Linked DNA regions of Homo sapiens: region 1 is linked to region 2. The links are contacts of gene promoters, found by promoter capture Hi-C in blood cells and fetal thymus (Javierre and others, 2016). All regions are on one chromosome and are shown on one strand. Each heading gives the region's core, a stretch centred on a gene start or on the middle of the fragment in contact. The rest is flanking DNA. Distances are from core to core; before and after follow the strand shown.

Region 1 (5,777 bases), core at 1,885-4,384, 620 kb before region 2:
CTTAGTTTTGTAAAGAACTTTGCAATTTTCCTGGAGGAAAGTTGTCGCCACGAAGGACTTTATTACCACATACTTTGGTTTCCAGGTGCAAGTGAGTCCAAACCCCAGGTGCAAATATATCCAAATTTCAGCACCATAAGGTTTCAGTTTCTCACTTGTGTTTTTTTTATAGTACCTGCCAACACATGAAACACGGTAGAAAGGTTTGATCAATTTTTTAAAATGAATTTAGGAAAAAATAGTAACTTACAGAAACTTTGAATTCAGAGTTGAAAGAGAGCTTATAAATGATCAAACCAAACCTATTCTGGGAGCCGAAATTCCTTCTCCAGTATTCCTGGCAGACAGGATCCAGCCTTGCTTCAAGATTTTCACACAGAACAGCTGTTTTCGTTGTAGAGTGGAAATGATTCTTATGAAATTTATATGAAAATTCTGTGAATGTCTATGTGTATGTGCATGCAAAATTTATATTTCCATCTAGGAGAGGCATATTCCCTATATAATTGCATTTGCTTATTCAAAAGCTAGTCACACGGGTTGAGAAGTATGAGGGTACTTATGGGGAAAATAAGACAGAATTAGGATAGTACTTTAAATCTGGGAAATGTGCCCACAGTATTTACCGCTGTTTTAAGAAAGCATATTTATGCTTTTAGTACCAAGCAGATCTTCTTGTTGATTCAGGACTTCTGCTATTTTACAATGAAAGCAGATTGTAAATGAAACTTTACTGATTTCCCTTTTTCCTTTTCCTGTAGTAATCAAATGCTCTCAGCCACTGGATCTAATGAGTAACAGCTGTGCTTGAAGTGGCCTTATAGATAAAAATTAAAAGTATGATAACATCTAAGGATTTTGTTGTTTTTAAAATAACGGTAGACTTAAGAATTAAGAGGAGGCTAAAGGCATCAATGCTTCTAATATGTCAGTCAGCCTCTTCATGTAGTAAGTTGGAGAAACTGACATAGTCTAACAATCCGATGCATTGGGAGATATGCTGTGGTGATCTGACCTTACTTGTAGTTGCAAAGACTTGCACTGGAAGAGTCTATCTCCTCAGTGATGGTGGAGATGGTTTGCTAAATGTCCGTGAAGGCCTGATTTGCAAGATATCCGATGTTGTTATGATTAAATGCAACAACCATACCCCATGAACTATTAGAGACAGAAGGAGCTAGAGAGGGTGCCCTTCCAAATCTCTTACTGGCAAAATGAGGAAACTGAAGTGATTTGCACAAGATCAGCCAGCTAGCTGCACAACTGTGACTGGAAACTGAGCCCCTACATAATGCTTATTATGTCCCACCAATGGCTTTCCCATAGCTGCATTATGGTTGTAGACACTCTAAACGAGATGCTATTTTAATACTACATACCTAAGGTTCAATCAGTTGGATGTTTTTCTCTTTTTACCAAAACCTTTTTAGAACATATTTGACACTAGTGTCATTTGTCTGTTGACATACGCTTGGTGGAAGGAGTAATTGTCCAGGGGTAGAAAGGCTATTCTTCTCTGCTGGGGATGTGTGGGATCCTCAGTCACAGTTGAATAGAAGAGAGTATTTTCTTCTTCAGAATCAAGACCACAATTTTTTATGTGGCCAGGCTTGAGTTTTTGCAACTTAATTAAACATATCAATTCCAATCAATTATATTTCCTATTAGTTCAAACACTTCTCCAGTCAACAACAAATCTGTAAAGAGTCCCTGAGTGCCTGCCCTCACTCTCACACACTTTTCTTTGTGTGATCAGTATGAACGTGCATCTTTTCCTTCAAATATCGTGATCCCCATCCTTCTTTTCTCTTTTCTCTTCTTTTCCTGGGTATGCTTTTTTTCCCCCCCTCTCTATTCTCTGAGACCTTTGATGGAACCTTTATTGAATGCATAGCACATGCTTGGAGCAATTTAGGATGACTTTTCTAGGATCATCCAGATGTCCAGTGTGGAGAAATAAAATAAAACATGCTTTTCTCTACATTTCAACATAAAGGCTTTGTTTGGCCTTTTAGTTTTCTCTATCTTTAGCAGTAGACATGTCCAAAGACCAGTACAGAAAAAGAGACAGAAGGGATCAGCATGTGCCTCACACCTGCACTGGTCACTCATTCAAGGTGCAAGGTAGGCAGGAGCAAAGGAGAGAGTGACACATGAAAAGTATCCGGGCCATATGGCAGTAGGACAAGCCAGGCATGCTTGTCTAGGTCTATTTGTAAACCCTGTGGGTGTTATCCCCACACTGCAAGAATAGTGATAAATACGTCATTAACCATGACCAGCAGAGATATGTCTATATTAGAGAAAAAGAGGCAACCCTGAATCTTAACATTATATTTTACGTCCTACATTGCCTATTCTCTAGTGTGCGGTTCTCAGAGAGGAATGTGCCACAGTATTCCAATAGTTATGAAAAGATAACATAAGGTGCAGCCAGCAGTCCAGAAGAGATGTGGTCAAGATTTGTCAAACTATTTGAAGTCGTTTATAAGTAAAAATACCTCACTCAATGATTCTTACGAATTCAATTTTCCAGTTAAAAAAAGGGCAAAGAACACATTTTGCCATTTGTGCTAGAGATTAATATCCCTTTATTTACATGCAAATTACTTTAAAAGGTAGGAAAACCTATAAAATTTTAAAGGTTCCACACTGGGGGCTTACACTAAGAGTCTTTGTCAAATAAAATGAATTCTCACAAATCTGCTTTGAGCTACTTTCTTTGCTTCTAAGCACAGCCTCTCTTAGAGGAAGGAAACAGTAAAGTTCTCACAGAGAAAGAAAACGTTTACCACTCAGTAAAAATCCCTGGGCCTCACTGTATGAAAGCTTTAATTTAGCTCGGCTCATTCCTCCATGAGTTAATTTAGAACACCAATGAAAGGAGATTATTTTTGGACTGAGAATCTGCCTGGCACATTTTTTGAACTTAATAGAGCTAAATAAAACTATCCAAACTCCTGTGATTTTTGGAGGAGGTCATCTACAAGCGATAGCCCTGTGATAGTTTTCATGAACATAGCAGACCAAACGTGAAGGAACATTCTCTAATCTGGAGAGATTAGGGGCCTCATACATGAATAGAGCCACTTCTTAAATACACATTAACTGGAAAAGATATGGAATGTGAACATGCATGCACACGCTCTCCAGGCAGGAGACAGCCAGGAGAAATGGAAAGCGCAGAGGCCTAGGAGTAAGATAAGCCATGTCTTTCTTAGCTTTGGCTGTGCTGGGGAACTAATTTCCATTGGGAAAACAGCTTCATCTCTTTGAGCATTAGTTACTTTTGTAAAATGGGAACAATGATCTCCCTTGAAGGGTTATAATATTGCATGTGTAAAAGTTTTATAAATACATAATCTTCCAAGTGTGATATTTTTGTTTTGATTTATTGACTTGCCTGTATTTTCTATTTTCTTATAATAATACATGTAAGACAAGCTTATCTTAAAGAATTAGAGAACTATATAGAAAGGAAGATAAGGGAAAAAGTCTTCATTATTGCATCATTCAGAGGTTTTTCTTCTAATCTTTGCATTATTCAAAGGCACTTTCTTCCAATCTTTTGCTGAACATTTTCTTATATAGTTAAGAATACACCATATTTGCAGCTGGAATCCTTAAAAAAAGATATATTTTATGTATCTGTAAATATACATATATTTATATATGCATATATATACATATACAAATATCTATACACATATATAGATATATAAATATATACATATATAAATATATATACATATATAGATATATAAATATATACATATAAAGATATATAAATATGTATATATAAATATGTAGAAATATATCTCTGTATAAATATATAGATATACAAATATGTATATCTATATATACATATATAAATAGATCTAGATCTATATATAAATCACTGTGTTCTTTTGTATTATTAAAAGGCCTTTATATAACATAATTTTTAATACTGCATATTCCACCTCCCCATCATCATCATCTTTATCTTTGTTAGTATCATCTCCAAGATCAGTATCATCATCATTTGTTAAACACTATGAGCCAAATCTTATGTAAGTGGTTTACACATATTACGCTATTTTACTTTATTCTCAAGAATTATTCACATTTGTAAATGGAGACAAATATAGCCAACAAAAACAAAAATATTGAAGAGAAAAATAATCATCTGTAAGCTTTGTGCCTCTGAGAGAAACTCCAGGACCATTTCAAACCAACTTAACTGGCAACAAGGTGACAGAAACACTGATTATTACCTTGTACTTTTTTGGAAAGTTAAAGCTAAATAAGGCTATATACTTATATATGTTTCTTGAAAGAGATTTCTTATCATTATATAACCACTTGAGAAAAACACTTTTTAAAAAAATTAAAAACTGAAAAACAAAGCGTCTCTTTATTTTTCGGATCCTAAAGAATGGAATCATTTAAAGATGGGGAAATGCTTCAGCTCAATGCAAAAAGGCTTCTTCCAAGAATACATAGGCACTATTCAGGGTTTAGAAAGTTGTTTTAGAATCACAGTAGAGGCCTTTTGCGTATTAAAATAGACTATTTTTTTTCCTGACCATTTAGCCTTGCAAAGCAGCTGAGAGGAGTAACACCGTATTATTTCTTCAGCTTTCAGATATCTATCTAGTAATTTCCATTTTCATCCACAGAACACATTCAGAGCAGAATTGGCGTAAAGTTGTTGCTGATTTGATTTGGCCAATGATTCTTAAGAAATGACGGTGGCACAACTGTCACATCTTTCTGCCAAAACCTTGTCAGTCCAGCAGTCTCCACTAGATGAGGTGAAGGGAGACGAGGGCTGGAGATAGGAGAGTCAGTCCTGAGAGGGGAGGAGGGTGGCTAAGGAAGTGTCAAGGGGGTCTCTGGAGAAGGGGCCCCGGGCTATTAGCTAGCTGTCTAATCCTCCCCTCAGCAAGGCCTTTTGGCTGCCAAGACTGTTATCCTGTGTGCAGTGTTGATGGTCTGTGATCCTTTGTCAGAGTAATTGACGGTGAAGTCTGCACTTTTGCAGCTAATGATAAATAGGGCTTTTAAAGGTTGTAATTTCTTGTTTAACTGATGCCAGTTGCAAATACTTTGTGCTGAGGAATAATTCCTCTCTGCCAAATAAAATACAGTGGAAGTCTGTGGTGTGTTTTTCAGCTTATTGTTAGTCACAGCTTTCCTGACAGAGCACTTTCTATGCAGGAGATAAATGCTCAGGCCGTCCGGCTGCCAATTTCAGCACATAAAGGACTTTTCTGTGGAAAAGACTTTTCTGTTTCTCTAGTGAACATTAATAAGGATTTTTATTTATTTTACTTTTTATTTTATTATTTTACAAAACCCTTTCAGAGGGGCAAATGTTTACTTCCTTGGAATGAGAATTATTTGAGTTTTTAAATGGGTCTCATTTCTTTCTCTGTCCCATTCATGAGCTCTAGTTTGCACACAGCTCCTCTAGATAAATGGCAAGAAGATGGCTCTCTAGTCTGTTCACAGAAAACTGTATTATGGGCAATGGGATTGGGGAAAGGCTTCCCCAAGGGTCTGTGCACCACAAGACTGAAGGGAAAATTATAGTAAAAGGGGCCAGAGGATGGCAAAAATGAGAGAAATCAGGTTCCTATGGGCTCAAAGAAAGATTGGCTTGCTTGGATGTAAACTGAGATTCATACCTTTCACAATGAAACAAAGCAACACAAAAGTGCACCGAGAAATACCAGTGTGCCTCAAAAGTGCAAGTGAATGGATTTGAGAAGGAGTCTCGCTCTGTCACCTAG
Region 2 (6,353 bases), core at 3,518-6,017:
CGTCAGAGAAAGAGCTGGAATAGCTCTTGGAGTCCTTACTCAGACTCATGGGACAACCCCACATCAGTGGCATATCTAAGTAAGGAAACTGATGTAGTAGCAAAAGGCTGGCCTCACTGTTTATGGGTAGTTGTGGCAGTGGCCATCTTAGTATTAGAGGCTATCAAAATAATACAAGGAAAGGATTTCACTGTCTGGACTTCTCATGATGTAAATGGCATACTAGGTGCCAAAGGAAATTCATGGCTATCAGACAAACGCCTGCTTAGATACCAGGCACTACTCCTTGAGGGACCAGTGCTTCAAATACACACGTGTGTGGCCCTCAACCCTGCTATTTTTCTCCCAGAGGATGGAGAGCCAATCAAGCATGACTACCAACAAATTGTAGCCCAGACTTATGTCACCTGAGAGGATCTCTTAGAAGTCCCCTTAGCTAATCCTGACCTTAACCTATATACCAATGGAAGTTCATTTGTGGAGAATGGGATACGAAGGGCAGGTTATGCCATAGTTAATGATGTAACAGTACTTGAAAGTAAGCATCTTCCTCCAGGGACCAGCACTGTTAGCAGAACTAGTGGCACTTACCCAAGCCTTAGAACTGGGAAAGGGAAAAAGAATAAATGTGTATACAAATAGCAAATATGCTTATCTAATCCTACATGCCCATGCTGCAATGTGGGAAGAAAGGGAGTTCATAACCTCTGGGTGAACCCCCATTAAATACCACAAGGAAATCATTAAGTTATTGCATGTGGTGCAAAAACCTAAGGAGATGGCAGTCTTACACTGCCAAAGCCATCAAAAAGGTGAAGGAGAAAAGGCAGAAGGAAACTGTCGGGCAGATGCTGAGGCCAAAATTGCTGCCAGGTGGAACCTACCATTAGAAATACCTGTAGAAGGGCCACTGGTATGGAACAACCCTCTCCAAGAGATTAAGCCCCAGTATTTCCCAACTTAAACAGAATGGGGACTTTCACGGGGGCATAGTTTTCTCCCCTCAGGGTGGTTCACTACGGAAGAGGGAAAGGTACTCATACCTGAAGCCAGACAGTGGAAAATACTTAAGACCCTCCACCAAACTTTTCATATGGGTATTGAGAACACTCATCAAATGGCTAAATCTCTATTTACGGGTCCAAATCTCCTCTGGACCATCCAACAAGTAGTCAAAGCCTGTGAGGTGTGCCAAAGGAATAATCCCTTGGTCCATCATAAGGCCCCTCTGGGGGAACAAAGAATAGGGCACAATCCCAGAGAGGACTGGCAGTTAGACTTCACCCATATGCCTAAGTCTAAGGGATTTCAACACTTGTTGGTCTGTGTTGAAACCTTTACAAATTGGATAGAAGCCTTCCCCTGCAAGACAGAGAAGGCTCAGGAAGTGGTTAAAGTCCTAATGCATGAAATAATTCCTAGATTTGGGCTTCCCCAAAGCTTACAAAGTGACAATGGTCTGGCTTTTAAAGCCACGGTAACAGGGAATTTCCAGGGTGCTAGGGATATCATATTACCTCCACTGCGCCTGGAGGCCACAATCCTTAGGGAAGGTTGAGAAGGCAAATCCCTATAACCATGAATACCATCTTAACTTTCCAAGCCCCTCTATGCATCCAACACAACCCGTTATCAGGCCTGCCCCTGGGGGACCTATTATCCCATCAGTGTAATTACATCCTACAACTTCAAGCCCGAACTGATTATAGTAACTTCCGAGTCACCCAAACAGCTCCACTCAGATGGCTTGTCCACTTCTCAGAGCCTCCAAAAATCATCACCTCCTCCCTGCTTAACAAACAGTCTGGGTTTTTTAATAGCAAACATACTCCCTGCATGACCATTCACCCCTGGACCCCCTGCAGCAGTGCCCCCACCACTAGTGAATGCCTCCTCATCCCCTCTTTCAATTAATCTATTGAATGGTTCCTAGTAGATACAAAACGGCTTTTTCCCCCAATGGGAAGATAGAGCACAGGGAGCCACTCAGTTTGCTCCCAACACCCCTTTCCAGCCACTCACCGGAGCCACCTTGGCACGTACTCTAGGAGTATGGGAAAATGAAAACAACAAACTCACACACCTTTTTAACGTACACAACCAGTTCTGTCTACCCAGCCAAGACGTATTCTTCTTACATGGAATGTCAACCTATATCTGCCTCCCCACCAACTGGACAGGCACCTGCACCTTAGTCTTCCTAAGTCCCAATATAAACATTGCCCAGACCCTATCAGTGCTCCTCAAAGCACAAGTCCATCAGCACAGGGCCATACAACTAATACCCCTACTTATAGGGTTAGGAATGGCCACTGCTACAGGAACCGGAATAGCAGATTTATCCACTTCATTATCCTACTACCACACACTCTCAAAGCATTTCTCAGGCAGTTTGCAAGAAAGAACAAAATCTATCCTTACTCTACAATCCCAAATAGACTCTTTGGCAGCAGTGACTCTCTAAAACCACTGAGGCCTAACCTCCTCACTGCTGAGAAAGGAGGACTTTGCACCTTCTTAGGGGACGAGTGTTGCTTTTACACTAACCAGTCAGGGTTAATATGAGACGCCACCCGGCATTTACAGGAAAAGTCTTCTGAAATCAGACAATGCCTTTCAAATTCTTATACCATTCTCTGGAGTTGGGCAACATGGCTTCTCCCCTTTCTAGGTCTCATGACAACCATCTTGCTATTACTTGCCTTCGGGCCCTGTATTTTTAAGCTCTTTGTCAATTTGTTTCCTCCAGGATCGAGGCCATCAAGCTACAGATGGTTTTGCAAATTAAACCCCAAATGAGCTCAACTAACAACTTCTACCAAGGACCCCCTGGATCGACCCACTGGCCCTTTGATACCTAGAGAGTTTCCCTCTGGAGGATACTACAATTCAGGGTCTCTTCTTCACCCCTATCCAGCAGGAAGTAGCTAGAGCAGTCATTGCGCAATTCTCAAAAGCAGTTGGGGTGTCCTGTTTAAAGGGGGTATTGAGAGGTGAAGCCAGCTGGACTTCCTGGGTCGAGTAGAGACTTGGAGAACTTTTCTGTCTTACAAGAGGATTGTAAAATGCACCAATCAGTGCTCTGTAGCTAGCAAGAAGTTTGTAAAATGCACCAATCAGTTCTCTGTAAAATGGACCAATCAGTGCTCTGTAAAATGGACCAATCAGCGCTCTGTAAAATGGATCAATCAGCAGGATTCTAAAAGTAACCAATCGTGGGGAGAATTGAGAAAAGGGCATTCTGATAAGACAGAAACAGGACATGGGAGGGGACAAATAAGAGAAAGCTGGCCACCCCAGCCAGCGGCAGCAACTGGCTCGGGTCCCCTTCCACTCTGTGGAAGCTTTGTTCTTTCGCTCTTCACAATAAATCTTGCTGCTGCTCACTCTTTGGGTCTGTGCCATCTTTTAAGAACTGTAACACTCACCACAAAGGTCCGCAGCTCCATTCTTGAAGTCAGGGAGACCAGGAACCCACCGGAAGGAACTAACTCTGGACACAATATTTTTTTTTCTTTTTTTAAATTTTTTTCTTTATTTCTTCTAAAAAAAAGTGGGATGCATGTGCAGAACGTGCAGGTTTGTTGCATAGGTACACGTGTGCCATGGTGATTTGCTGCACCTATTGACCTGTTCTCCTCTAAGTTCCCTCTCCTCACCCCCTACCCTACAACAGGCCCTACAACATTCCCCTCTCTGTGTCCATGTGTTCTCATTGTTCAACTCCCACTTATGAGTGAGAACATGCAGTGTTTGGTTTTCTGTTCCTGTGTTAGTTTGCTGAGGATGATGGCTTCCAGCTTCATCCATGTCCCTGCAAAGGACATGATCTTATTTCTTTTTATGGCTGCATAATATTCCATGATATTTTTCAAAAGAAAATATTTGCTGCCAACAGAAGATTTTATATTAAAATCTGTATTTGCAGCTTTTACTGAAAAGAACCTAAGGCCTTGCCATATTGGGCTCATTTTCTCAAATAGCAACATTTAGCTGAACTGAATAGACAGAGAAAGTACTTTCCAGTCAGATCATATCTGGCCCACTTTCCTCGTGTATGTTACCCTCCTCACTCCTGTAGGCATTTGCATGTGTAGTCACAAGCAAATGTGGTTTAGAAATTGTTCAGTGAACCATGTTGGAAAATGTCCCTAAACACAAGTCCTAAAGATGGTCTGTTATATTATCTTACAAGCACACAGTGGAAGGAAAAACAGTTAAGTTTTCTATTTCTGCCACAGCTTCTATAATTATTACCTTTCTTGTGCCCTAGGTTAATATCTAAAAATAGCTTTATGCTTTCTCAAACACATTTCACCAGCTCCCTCTGCTGATCCAATCTGAAGGACAAAACAGCTTAAATTCCTTGTAAGTCCTGAACTTTAAAATCACATTTCTGGGGTTGGAGAACTCCAAGCATGAAAGAACTTGATGAGGTAATGGTCATCTAAATAACTTTCTCCTTTGGACAGCTCCTATGGTAATCCAAGCAAGAGTCAGGGTGTAGAAGTTTGTTTCCAAAAGTAGAACTCCTGTTTCGCTGAGAAAGCTGTAATTTGGGGTGATTTGGCGCCCTCTACAGACTATAATGGCAAAAGCGACGCTATCATGTGCTTCCCATAGCTTTAGGGCTTTGCCAGAACTATGACGTTGAGGAGGGTGGGGTAAAGGGGCAGGAAGCGTTTATGTTCTGCCAATCCAACAGCTGTATTCTAACTCACCATTCCGCCCTCCCTTAAGATCACGGAAGTATCACGCTTGCCTCTTACACAACTTTTTTTCCTTAGTCTGTATACTTTCTGCTGTCACTAGCATAACAGAAAAGACGAATGGCTTTTGTTTTAAACTGAGGGCACTTTTACAAAAGTCATCTTTCCATTTATTTTTCTTTCAGAAAAAAGAATTTGGGTTTTGAGCTTTTTTAAAAAAAAAAGACAAACACTTTCCTTGACTTTGAGAAATAATTTAAGTCAAAGAATCTGCTCTATGCTAACCAAGGTAAGTGTCCTGGATTTTTTTTTTAATGGGGAAATGATCCAGAAACTGCTTTCACAAAAGATGAATGTTTTTCTTGGAGTGTGTTCCTTAAGAATGAATGTGATTATCTTCTTTTGGGGTCTCTTGACTAGGGCTAAAGCAAGAGAATTAAGGAGAGAGTCAGGAAGCAAAGGGAAGTTGTAAGGAAACAAAGTTATGTTGTGGACAGAACCATCCAAAAGGAAAGTGTCAGTGAGATAAACAGAATCATGAGACTTTCAGTGACTCCAGTGACCTCTGATTTCATCTTATGAATGAGATGGAAATGCCAGCCATTGGGAAACAAATACCCCATAGATGGCGTGGGAAAAAAATACTGTAACAAAGCAAGAGCATGGTAGGATGATGATAAGAAACATAAAATGATCAAATTTCAAATTCAAAGAAATCATAATTGATTACATGATTTGCAAATCACCCAAGTCTCTCCATGTCTCATAAAGGATTCCTACATTTGCTGGTCAGTCAGGTATAGGGTGGGGTTTTCCCGTTGTACAAAGGTCTAGTTCAATAGGTCAGGTCTCCTTTCTGCCAAGGGACTAAATATAAGCAACCTATGGCTGGCACGGTGGCTCACGCCTGTAATCCCAGCACTTTGGAAAGCCGAGGAGGGCAGACCACTTGAGATCAGGAGTTTGAGACCAGCCTGACCAACATGGTGAAACCCCGTCTCTACTAAAAATACAAAAATTATCCAGGCGTGGTGCCGCCTGCCTGTAGTCTCAGCTACTCAGGAGGCTGAGGCAGGAGAATCACTTGAACCCAGGAGGTGGAGGTTGCAGTGAGCCGAAATTGTGCCACTGCATTCCAGCCTGGAAGACAGAGTGAGACTCCAACTCAAATAAATAAATAAATAAATATAAGCACCTTTGAGCAACCAAGTACCTTATGAAGTCCACTTTATAGTTTGCAGAGTTTGCACACACGTTCTCCCAATCCTTCAAGCCTGCAGTATTCTCGCCTACCTTTGAATTCATATCTTTTTTTTTTTGTGCACCAATTACTTGGTTTTCAGACATAAGAACAGTCCTTTCAAGCTTGAAGGAAACAAAGAGAAAGCCACTTGAACCCTCTGTTTTACAAATGTGGAAGCACTGGCTCAGAGAAATTGAGAATTGTGTCCAGGGTTACAAGCTGCTTAGAGGCAGAAGCAGAACTAGAACTCAGATCTCTCAATTTCCAGTTCACTCACTACCTTCCTCTACTGACTCAAGGCAAAATTTAAAAAGGTTGCTCCCATTCAGAAATTTATAGTCTGTAAATACGGATTAATTTTAAAAGGTGCTAATTCCCAATTTGTTTCTACTGCCTGTAGA

What was found. Contacts are between HindIII fragments. The CHiCAGO score rates a contact against its expected background, and 5 or more counts as called.
Region 1: a fragment that was not itself captured here is called in contact with the fragment with the promoter of FMO4 in region 2 in 1 of 17 cell types (non-activated CD4 T cells); the score reaches 5.2 in non-activated CD4 T cells.

What each region holds. Positions count from the first base shown.
Region 1 is chr1:170,694,004-170,699,780 of GRCh38, forward strand. The region is part of intron 1 of PRRX1 (paired related homeobox 1); the gene reads left to right. Among named protein-coding and RNA genes, the nearest start is that of PRRX1, 33 kb to the left of the region's middle. The HindIII fragment of the contact is 615 bases long and covers 2,828-3,442 here.
Region 2 is chr1:171,309,416-171,315,768 of GRCh38, forward strand. FMO4 (flavin containing dimethylaniline monoxygenase 4) reads left to right here and starts at 4,768. Exons shown (of 10, transcript NM_002022.3): 1 at 4,768-4,998. The HindIII fragment of the contact is 2,730 bases long and covers 3,343-6,072 here.